2 separate regions of the Homo sapiens genome follow, and region 2 is linked to region 1. The links are contacts of gene promoters, found by promoter capture Hi-C in blood cells and fetal thymus (Javierre and others, 2016). All regions are on one chromosome and are shown on one strand. The core of a region is centred on a gene start or on the middle of the fragment in contact, and the rest is flanking DNA. Distances in the headings are between cores, read along the strand shown.

What was found. The method cuts DNA at HindIII sites, captures the fragments that hold promoters and counts their contacts. A CHiCAGO score of 5 or more calls a contact.
Region 2: a contact is called between the fragment with the promoter of ZNF549 here and a fragment that was not itself captured in region 1, in 1 of 17 cell types (non-activated CD4 T cells). The highest score is 6.2, in non-activated CD4 T cells.

The regions. Positions count from the first base shown.
Region 1 is chr19:57,935,519-57,941,399 of GRCh38, reverse strand. ZNF256 (zinc finger protein 256) reads left to right here. Exons shown (of 3, transcript NM_005773.3): 3 at 1-567. The coding sequence ends at 476. Among named protein-coding and RNA genes, the nearest start is that of ZNF418, 3.1 kb to the right of the region's middle. RefSeq lists an enhancer at 5,713-5,881. The HindIII fragment of the contact is 1,983 bases long and covers 1,421-3,403 here.
Region 2 is chr19:57,525,861-57,531,715 of GRCh38, reverse strand. It overlaps ZNF549 (zinc finger protein 549), which reads right to left and starts at 4,360. Exons shown (of 4, transcript NM_001199295.2): 1 at 4,110-4,360; 2 at 608-646. The coding sequence starts at 4,142. The HindIII fragment of the contact is 12,430 bases long and covers 1,433-5,855 here.

The DNA of each region.
Region 1 (5,881 bases), core at 1,163-3,662:
AATCCTTTACCTGTAAATCCTACCTCATCTCACACTGGAAAGTTCATACTGGAGCAAGGCCTTATGAATGTGGGGAGTGTGGGAAATCATTTACTCATAGCTCTACGCTCCTTCAACACCAGAGAGTTCACACTGGAGAAAGGCCTTATGAGTGCAATGAATGTGGGAAGTTTTTTAGCCAGAGCTCCAGCCTCATTAGACATAGGAGAAGTCACACCGGAGAAAGGCCTTATGAGTGCAGTGAGTGTTGGAAATCCTTTAGTAACCACTCTAGCCTCGTTAAACACCGAAGAGTTCATACCGGAGAAAGGCCTTATGAATGCAGTGAATGTGGAAAATCCTTTAGCCAGAGCTCTAACCTCACTAATCACCAGCGAATTCACAGTGGGGAAAGGCCTTATGAGTGTAGTGACTGTGGAAAATTTTTTACCTTCAACTCCAACCTCCTAAAACATCAGAACGTTCACAAGGGATAAAGGTTAGGTAACACACATAGGGCTGTTACGGACTGAGAAGTGTCCCTGCAAAATTCACAGACATAAATAAATAAATACGTATTTTCAATAACCATGTTTTATATTTAGTATATGTTCTCTGAATTTTGTTTTATACAAATAAGTTTATATGTGTACATACTACTTTGTCTCATATCCACACAGAAAACCAAATGGTTTCTTTTTTTAAAAAAATTCTTTGTGTTTAAATGGACAAATTATAATTGTACATGTTCCTGGAGTACATAGTGATGTTTTGATACCTATAACTTAGAGTGATCAGAGTAATTAGCATATCCATCACCTCAAACATTCGTCATTCCTTTATATTGGGAACAGTCAGTCTCAATTGCCATTCTCCTAACAACTTGAAATTATATATTATTAACTTTAGTTCTCCTGTAGTGGTATAGAACACTAGAACTTATTCCTCCTGTCTAGTTGTAATTTTGTAGCTTGTAACCAATCTTTGTCTATTCCTGCCTACCCACTACCCTTCCCAGCCTCTAGTATCCTCTGTTCTACTTTTTACTTCTAAGAGATCAACTTTTTTTTGTGGGGGTGGGGGACAGTCTTGCTTTGTCTCCCAGGCTTTTTTTTTTTTTTTTTTTTTTTTTTTTTTTGAGATGGAGTTTCACTCTTTTTGCCCAGGCTGGAGTGCAGTGGCATGATCTTGGCTCACCGCAGCCTCTGCCTCCTGGGTTCAAGCGATTCTCCTGCCTCAGCCTCCTGAGTAGCTGGGATTACAGGCATGCACCACCACCCCGGCTAATTTTGTATTTTTAGTAGAGACAGGGTTTCTCCATGTTGGTCAGGCTAGTCTTGAACTCCCGACCTCAGGTGATCCACCCGCCTCAGCCTCCCAAAGTGCTGGGATTACAGGCGTGAGCCACCGCACCCAGCTTTTTTTTTTTTTTTTTAAAGCTTCCACATATGAGTGGGAATGTGCATGTTTATGTTCCTGGCTTATTTCACTTAAATAATGTCCTCCATTTCCATCCATGTTGCCTCAGGTGATAGGATTTCATTCTGTTCTTTGAATAGTATTCCTTTGTGTGTATAAACCACATTTTCTTTATCCATTTATCTGTTGTTGGACATCTAGGTTGATTCCATATTTTGGCTATTGTGAATAGTGCTGCAGTAAACGGGGTGTAGATGTGTCTCCAATGTGATGATTTTCTTTCCTTTGGATAAATTCCCAGTAGGGGGATTGCTGGATGATATGGTAGTTGTGTTTGTAGTTTTTTGTTTTGTTTTGTTTTGTTTTTTGAGACAGAGTCTCACTCTGTTATCCAGGCTGGAGTGCAGTGGTGTGATCTTGGCTCACTGCAACCTCCGCCTCCCAGGTTCAAGCAATTCTCCTGCCTCAGCCTCCTGAGTAGCTGGGATTACAGGTGCGTGCCACCACCCCTGCTAATTTTTGTATTTTTAGAAGAGACGGGGTTTCACCATGTTGGTTAGGGTGTTCTCGAACTCCTGACCTCGTGATCCGCCTGCCTCAGCCTCCCAAAGTGCTGGGATTACAGGCGTGAGCCATCGCGCCTGGCATATTTGTAGTTTTTAGAGGGACCTCAATACTGTTCTCCATAATGGCTGTACTGGTTTGCATTTGCACCACCAGTGCATGAGTTCCCTTTTCTTGTATTTTGTTGGGTTTTTTTTTTTTTTTGAGATGGAGTCTTTCTCTGTCGCCCAGGCTGGAGTGCAGTGGCATGATCTTGGCTCACTGCAACCTCCGTCTCCCGGGTTCAAGCTATTCTCCTGCCTCAGTCTCCTGAGTAGCTGGGATTATAGGCACGCACCACCACGCCTGGCTAATTTTTGCATTTTTAGTAGAGACAGGGTTTCACCACGTTGGTCAGGCAGTCTCGAACTCCTGACCTCGTGATCCACCCAGCTCGGCCTCCCAAAGTGCTGGGATTACAGATGTGAGCCACCGCACCTGGCCATTAGTTCCCTTTTCTCTGCATCCTTGCCAGCGTCTGTTTTTGTCTTTTTGATAATAATTATCCTAAACGGGGAGAGTGATACCTCATTGCGGTTTTGATTTGCATTTCCCAGATAGTGATGAGTGTGTTTTAATATATTTTTGACCGTTTGTATGTTGTCTTTTGAAAAATGCCTATTCAGATCGTTTGACATTTTTAAATTGGATTGTTTGAGGGTTTCTTTGCTGTTGAAATACTTCAGTTGCTTGTGTATTGTATTCTGGCTCTATTTTTTTTTGAGACGGAGTTGCTCTGTTGTCCACGCTGGAGTGCAGTGGCACGATTTCAGCTCACTGCAACCTCTGCCTCCCGGGTTCAAGCAATTCTCCTGCCTCAGCCTCCCGAGTAGCTGGGATTACAGATGTGCGCCACCACACCCACCTAATTTTTGTATTTTTAGTAGAGACGGGTTTTTGCCATGTTGGCTAGGCTGGTCTCAAACTCCTGACCTCAAGTGATCTGCCCACCTTAGGCTCCCAAAGTGCTGGGATTGCAGGCATGGCCACTGCATCTGGCCTCTTTCTTGATTCTTGATTACACTGTCACTGAGTGGGTTCTACATCAGAAAAAGATGAATAGGCCAGGTGTAGTGGCCGAATCCTATAATGCCAGCACTTAGGGAGGCCGAGGCAGGAGGATTGCTTGAACTCAGGAGTTTGATACCAGCCTGGGCAACATGGCAAAACCACATCTCTCAAAAATTAGCTGGTTGTGGTGGTGCATGCCTATAGTCCCAATTACTCCTGAATGCTGAGATGGGAGGATCACTTGAGCCTGAGAGGTTGAGACTGCAGTTGAGCCTTGATCATGCCACTGCGCTTCAGCCTTGGCAACAGAGTGAGACGCTGTCTCAAAAAGGGGAGAAAAAAATAGAATGTGGAGATAAGCAGATTTCAAATGTGAAGTGAAAAAGAAGCTTTTCATTGTTCAAACCATATTGCTAAGTGAGAAAAAGTACAGATGTGTATAGAATCTATGACTTTTTTCCTATAAGATGAAAAACTTGTAACATAATTGACACACAGAATAATGAAGAAAGGGAGACACAATTCTATGAGGATAATACTATACTGCAGATTTCACCTTCTGTTTTTACTTATTCATTAAATTATTTATTTGGAGACAGAGTCTTGCTCTGCTGCCCAGGCTGGCCTCAAACTCCTTTGCAGAAGTGATCCTCCCTCTAAGCCTCCCAAGTAGGTAGGTGAACAGGCACAATTTTTCTCCACCTTGGTATTGTTCAATGTTTTTAATAAAGAAAAAAAAATCTCAATGACAAAACCAACAAGGGGGACATTTTTAATCACATGCTGACCTTAATTCCATCTCTTCGTAGACATCACTGTTAAAACTTCTGGGCCGGGCGAGGTGGCTCACACCTGTAGTCCCAGCACTTTGGGAGGCCACCTCGGGTGGATCACCTGAGGTGAGGAGTTTGCGGCCAGCCTGGCCAAAATGGTGAAACCTTGTGTCTACTGAAAATACAAAAATTAGCTGAGTGTGGTGGCAGGCACCTGTAATCCCAGCTACTTGGGAGGCTGAGGCAGGAGAATGAATTGCTTGACCCAGGAGGAGGAGGTTGCAGTGAGCTGAAACTGTGCCATTGTACTCCAGCCTGGACAACAAGAGTGAAACTCCTTCTCAAAACAAACAAACAAACAAACAAACACCTGTAAAGTCAGCTGGGAGCAGTGACTTATGCCTGTAATGTCAGCATTGTGGGAGAAGGAGGCAGGCAGGTCAGAGGTCAAGAGTTTGAGACCAGTCTGGCCAACATGGTGAAACCTTGTCTCTACTAAAAATACAAAAATTAGCTGGGCGTGGTGGCAGGCATCTGTTATCCCAGCTACTTGGGAGACTGAGGCAGGAGAATCGCTTGAACCCGGGAGGTGGAGGTTGCAGTGAGCCAAGATGGCGCCACTGCACTCCAGTCTGGGACAGAACGAGACTTTGTCTCAAAAAAAAAAAAAAAAAAAAAGAAAGAAAAACTTCTGTGAAGTGTAAATTTTTTTCACCATCCACTCATGTTTCAATTGACCTATTTCTGTCATCGCAGTTATTAGATAGTCGTTGGTAATAAGTTTCTGTAACTGGCATTTCACCTGTTTTTCTGGTATCATATTAGTTCCTCATGCAGAACACTCCCCGCTGTCACAAGAGAAACAAATGATAATCACTTCCCAGGAAAGATAACAAGCTCGATAATTTAACATACGCCTAGTGTCTCCAGGTGGAGATTATCACCACCATTACCAATACCAAGCTGAGATTTCTCTTTCATTGTTCTTTACCTGAGACTGACTTCAAGTTCCTAAAATGAGTTGAAAATATAAGTTAGAATACCAAGTAAGGGATATTACATGAATAAATGTTTTGCTGAATGAATTGGACACAATAATTGACTATATAAGCAGGAGAGTTGTTTTTCCATGGGAACGACTGATTGACCTTTGTACTCTTTCTTTAGCCTCTCCTCTATCTTCCTTGGCATGGTCCTATCTGGATTAGTTCTCTTTTGTCCCTGGCAGACTGAAAAACCAACTCTAATGCCTCAGAGTGAGGCAGGAGAATAGGGAATTAGGGTAACCAAGAATGAAGGCATAAGCAAAAGAACAGCAGGTGCAGCTAGTTCTAGGCAAGATGAGGCAGCACACAGGCCACGTCCTCACTCCTGTGGTAACAAGACAGAAGTCTCCACTTCAGCCTCTGATTGGTTGTGCACCAGTCCTTCATAGGATTGGAGGCCTTTAAAGAACTCTTGGGGTATTATAAAATTCTAGCTTATTCATGGCAAAAACCGCAATTACTTTTGCACCAACCTAATAAAACCCTAAAAAACATTGTAATCGGGGTTCTTGAGCCGCTTGGTCGCCTGCTCCCACACCTACATTCCACTTCTGTGGAGTGTACTTTCCCCTCAATAAATCTGCGCTTTCATTGGTCCGTTCTTTCGTTGCTTTTTTTGTGTGTTTTGTTCACTTCTTTGTTCAATGCGCCAACAACTGGACAACTCACAGCCAAGACATTCTATCCGGTAACAAGAGTGCATTCATGTGAATTATAACAGAGTAATGTTTATCAGCCTCTGCTTCCAGTGCAAGCATTCTGTGTCTAAACGATTGTATAAAGTGATACACGAATTTGGATTTGTAGCCTTTGGGGGCCTTCACAGTATTTTTAGCGCCTGGGAGCTTGAATTTACAGAAATGTGAATTAATATTTTTGCAAACACTTAGGTGGTCAGTTACAAACAGGGATTCCCCAGGAATCTCAATATGGCCTCTAAGGAGGGGCGAGACCATCCTCTGCCCTAAAAGGGTACGCGCTTTAATGAACCCCCTGAGGTAGGGCTGGGACTTCCCTGCAGAAGCGCCTTTGGGAAGCGGCAGCTTTACT
Region 2 (5,855 bases), core at 3,111-5,610, 410 kb after region 1:
TATGTGGCCATCTTGGTTATCATATCAACTGTCTCATTATCACAGTGCTTGTGTTCAAGTAACGCTTATTTTACTTAATACCCCCAAAGCACAAGAGCGATAATACCAGCCATTCAGATATGTAAAAGACAACCTGTGAAGTACTTCCTTTAAGTGAAAAGGTGAGAGTTCTTAACAAGAAAAAAAATATTGTACTCTGAGTTTGCTAAGATCTACGAAAAGGACAAATCATGTATCTGTGAGATTGTAAAGAAGGAAAAAGAAACTCATGTTAGTTCTGTCACAGCTCAAACTGCAAAAGTTTTGGCCACAGTGCACAGACTTGCAGTTCCCTATATATGCCCATATCATTCTCATCTCTAAGCATTTGGACATGCTGGCGCCTATGCCCAGGAAACCTTTCATCACTTCATCCTATTGGATGCAGAAATGGGAACATCTCTGTATAACTCCTGACCCTGATTAATCATCCTGGGCCTGAGGTGGCCCCAGGGACCCAAGATGAAGGAAAAAGAGTCCCAGGACATTATTGTTACCTGCATCTGTGGGCCAGACCCATGGCTTTAGGGAACAGGGCCAGTGAAGACCTGGGACTTCTTCCACTTACCTGTGATGGTTTCACAAACTCTTCTGTTACCATGGGAATCTGTAGGAAGAGGGAGGCTATGAAATACAGGTGTTCAAGGTGGCATTTACAAAGGGTAAGTTGCTCTTGCCAACTGTGTGACACTAGACAAAGACCTAACCTCTCTGAGGTTGCCTTCATCTGTAAAATGGAAACACTTAATGGTGGCTATCTCGTAGTGCCATCGTAGGCATCAAACTCATTCATACGTGTCCAATGCTAAGATTTAGCTAGTACTGACTATTGCATTAAGATTTCTGTAAACATTTTTTAAAACTCTGGTGTTTCTTACTTGCCATTTAAGTCTTTATGTGAATGTGGTATCTTTTCAAATTATGAGAGGCTTCTGTGCTTCTTTGATAATAAATATGTAGTGTCTTTTCCCACACCATTCTCTGATTCTGATACCAACTAGGTGTCCTACAATTCAATCCTATTCTAACACTAACTACCTGGAGTTGCAGCTAAACCAACAGGTTTAAGGGCTCAGTCGTACAAAACTGCCCTCACTTCATATGGCAATTGCAAGCCAATGTCCAGACCACTGTAATTTTCTCCACTTGGCTACACATTTGGGGGCTGCCATGACCTCTCTCCTTACGTTCAATAATTTGCTAGAACCACTTACAGAACTCAGGAAAATATTTTACTTATGTTTACCAGTTTATGATAATGGATGTAACTCAGGAACAGCCAAATGGAAGCGATGCATATGGCAAGGTACTGGGAGAGGGGGTAAGGCAGAGTACTTCCACGCTCTCTTACGTCACTCTCCCAGCACTTCCAAGTGTTCACAACCTTGAAGCTTCTAGAACTCATTGTTCAAGATTTTATATAACCTAATCTCCAGATCTCTGCTCCCCTCCCTGGATGCCAGAGGTGGGGCTCAAAGTTCAAATTCTATAATCACTTGATTTTTCTGGTGACTGACTCCACTCTGAGGCTATCTAGAGACTCCACCTTGTCTGCTCACCCTAAGCCATCTCATAAAACTCAAGTATAGAAGTCTTCCCTTATCAGCTGTTTTGCTATTTGCAGTTTCAGTTACCCACACTCAACTTCAGTGTGAAAATTATAAGTATTAAATTTCAACTTCAGTCTGAAAATAGTAATATTAAAATTCCAGAAATAAACAATTCATGTTTTAAATAGTGCACCATCCTTTATTTATTTATTTATTTATTTATTTTATTTATTTATTTTTGGAGACGGAGCCTCGCTCTGTCGCCCAGGCTGGAGTGTAGTGGTGCAATCTCGGCTCACTGCAAGCTCTGCCTCCCAGCTTCACACCATTCTCCTGCCTCAGCCTCCGGAGTAGCTGGGACTACGGGCGCCCACTACCACACCTGGCTAATTTTTTGTATTTTTAGTAGAGACGGGGTTTCACCATGTTAGCCAGGATGGTCTCGATCTCCTGACCTTGTGATCTGCCTGCCTCAGCCTCCCAAAGTGCTGGGATTACAGGTGTGAGCCACTGCGCTGGCCAACAGTGCACCATTGTAAGTAGTGTGAGGAAATCTCACTCTATCGAGTTTAGTCCCTTCTTCATCACAAGGGTGAATAGTACAGTAAGATATTTAGAGAGATACCACATTCACATGTTTTTTATAATTTAACTTTTGCTTTTTTATTGTCTCAACTGCAGTTACTTAACTTTTATTAACTTATAAAGTATAACTGTTCTATATTATTTCCAGTTATTATTGTTCATCTCCTATACTGCCTCATTTATAAACTGGATTTTATTACAGGTATGTAGTCTAGGAAGAAACATAGTATATATAGGTTGGGTACTATCTGCAGTTTCAAGCCTCCGCTGGGGTTCTTGAAAGGTATCCTCTGAGGATAAGGGGGAACTACTGTTCAGACATTCATTGTTCAACTACTAAATGGTATAGCCTATTGCTCCTAGGCTACAAACCTGTACAGCAAGTTACTATACTAAATACTGTCAGCAACTGTAACACAGTGATAATTATTTGTGCATTTAAACATTTATAAACTTAGAAAATGCAGTTTGCCTCCTGATCAGAAAGAAAGAAAATGAAAAGGTACAGTAAAAATATGGTATCATAATCTTATGGGACCACCGTCACTGATGTGGTCAACACTGTTGTTATGCGGTCCATGACTTATCACAAGACACTTTTCACTGAGGAAATTACAACGATTTTAGGAATTCTGTGCCAGGAAAGCATGACAAAAAACAAACATTTATTTTTTATTAGAGCACAGAGTTATAGTGACATTTTATTCGGTTAACTAATTGCTTGCATAAATTTAATTTGTTAAATCTATACAGTCTAAACTTGTATTTTCCTGGGAGAGCTGCTCTTGCTGGGCTTGGGCTTCTCTGCTAGTCTGGCTGACCTTTCTCTGGCTCCACATAGAGTGAACAGTTCGCCAAGTCTTCTGAATGGTGACTCTACACAGTGTCCCACCCTCAAATCCATCCTATGCAGTGTGTATTCCTTACACATTCCCTTTGGAAGTACCCCCGGAACCCCATGGCCCTCCTATCTGCAGGCAGCTTCGCCAAGGCCGACCCACACTTTCCCAGCCTCCAGCCTCAGCCCTCCCTCTCTTCATCTCAAAGTAAAACCTTAAGATTTCCCGTCTAAATTTAAGGCTTGGCTTGAGTCTACGCCCCAGCCTGTCTCCATTTACACATCACTGAGTCAGTCCCCTCCCATGAATTTTCTACTTATGATTCCAACTGCCCATGTAACAACTTCACTCTGTGGCAATTTAGAAACACCACGTCCAAAATTCAACTCCTACTATTTCCCTGAAACCTGCTCCCTCACCAGATTTCTTTGTCAACTCTTCCAGATGTTCAGGTAAAAGAAAAACTTGGGATCATACTTCACTCCCACTTTTGCTCATAGGCACAAATGATGGAGCAGAAAATCCTGCTGGCTTTACCTTTAAGATCTACCAAGATTCTTATTACTTAGGTCCCTTCAGCAACCCGTCTGGTCCAGAATCCACCATAATCCTCCTGGAGCCTACTACAGCAGTCTCCTCACCAGTATCCCTGCGTCCACCCCCATCACTCCGTAACAGTCTGTTTTCTCCACTCATTGCCTTTGAAATATTTTTTCAGACCCTCACTCAGATCGTGTTCTCCTTTAGTTCACAACCCTCCATGGCTCCCAAAGACTCAGAATTAAAAACCCCGGTTGCTCAGGCTGCCATGGCAGCCGTGCCTTCTTCTCCTCATTCTCTCTGCTCCCTGCAGACACAGGTCCGCCCCCAAGTTTCCGAATGCTCGCGACCCCGGCGCACCTCCCAGGCTCTGCGCGTGCAGCCCCCACGGTACGCAACGCTCTCCCTTCTTCACCTCACCGCCCGTCAGCTCTGAGGACCCCACCCAGAACTCCTCGCTGTCCTGGAGAAGAGGCCTGAACTGCAGAGACCCACGCAGGTGACCCCAGTCCGGGGCCTCAGGACCCAGGTGAGGATCCGAGGACTCCGCTCTCACCTGCGGCGTAATCACTAGCGCTGCCTCGGCCATGGGACTTTAGGCGGGGCGGGGCCTGGAAAGGCGGGCGGTAAAGCCCGGGATCCGGCGTGCGTGCGGTGGCAAATCGCTGGGCGACGCTCAGACCGAGACCAGGCAAGCTCCTCTGCGGGCGGACACCACCTCCACCGGTTTCCGGCTCCAGTTACCTGGCCCGGACCCAGCGAGCCGGAAACGCCCAGCCCGCGGACGCGCTCGCAGGCAGCAAAAACGACCACCACCGGAAAGACGCCGGAAGATTCTGGCGTATTGCGCACTTACGGAGGTGCCCCTTTCCTGGGCAATGATTGGTCTAAGGCCCCGGCACGCTCGGCGCACAGTATTCTGGGTGGTGTAGTTCCTACCACGCCGCAGTCCGCCGCGCTGTGAGGACTCAATCCAAGAAAGAGAGGACAAAGGAAAAAACCCATCAAACTAGGGTCAGCAAAGCCTATTACATACACAGGATAAAAGAATACGATTTGATCTTCATTTCTCAACACAAAAGTTGACATATATTGCATACAATACATTAAAAATGTTGACAATTGAGAATTGACGCGACCCTTAATTTTTTTCTTTTTTTTAATGTAGAAACTATAACCAAAAATAAAATTCAAAGGCCTCCCAACTATCTGAATGGACCCCCTCCTCTCAGCATTATAGAGTTAACCTGAAAATCTAGTTCAGGCCATTATGGAAGAAGGGGTTGGACATGCCTCATTCTACCCCTACAGCAATAACATCAGCATAGACCTTAAGTCTGATAAGAAACATTTACAATCTATTTCTCTGAAACTTGCTACCTGCAGGCTTCATCTGTATGATAAAACCTGGGTCTCCAACCAAGGTGATCACTAACAGTGGGGTCAGCATCCCCTTATCCCACACGTTTGTGTTTATTCTGTTTTTTTGCCCTCAAGTGTTAGTGACTTAAATTACATAATGTATCTATTATCATAAGTGGAACTGAAATGAGATTGCAGAAACATTATATCTTCTTTTTCTTTTCTTTTTTTCCTTTTTTTTTTTTGACAGAGTCTCACTCTGTCGCCCAGACTGGAGTACAGTGGTGCAATCTCTGCTCACTGTAACCTCCACCTCCCAGGTTCAAGCGATTCTCCTGCCTCAGCCTCCCGAGTAGCCGGGACTACAGGCATGCGCCACCACCCCCGGATAATTTTTGTATTTTTAGTAGAGACAGGGTTTCACCATGTTGGCCAGGCTGGTCTAGAACCGGCCTCAAGTGATTCGCCTGCCTTAAAGTGCTGGGATTACAAGCATGAGCCACCATGCCTGGCTTTTTTCCCCCATATTTAGCAATTAGCTTTTGTTGCTATCCATTGTCTTCATTTCTCTTTAGTTTTTAATTGTTTATAATTTTGACATTTTATAATTACTTAAGAAAGGTTAGAAAAATTACCATTTAGATTGGAGTCATATTAAATAAGACACCTATATTGTAAAAATATCTTTATGAATGTAATCTTTGGCTATAGTGTTGTAACCGAGCGAGTTATAGAGAAATGCCACACTCTGAGACTAATTCTGGAGTCCTTTTATTGCCAGCGACCGAGAGACAGCTAGAGCTCAAAATTCTTGGCCCCGAAGAAGGGGCTAGATTTCTTTTTATACCTTGATCTAAATAGGGGAGGGGGAGTTTAGCTGAAGCAATTTTTACAGAAGCAGAACAGGCAAAAAGTTAAAAGATAAATGGTTACACAAACA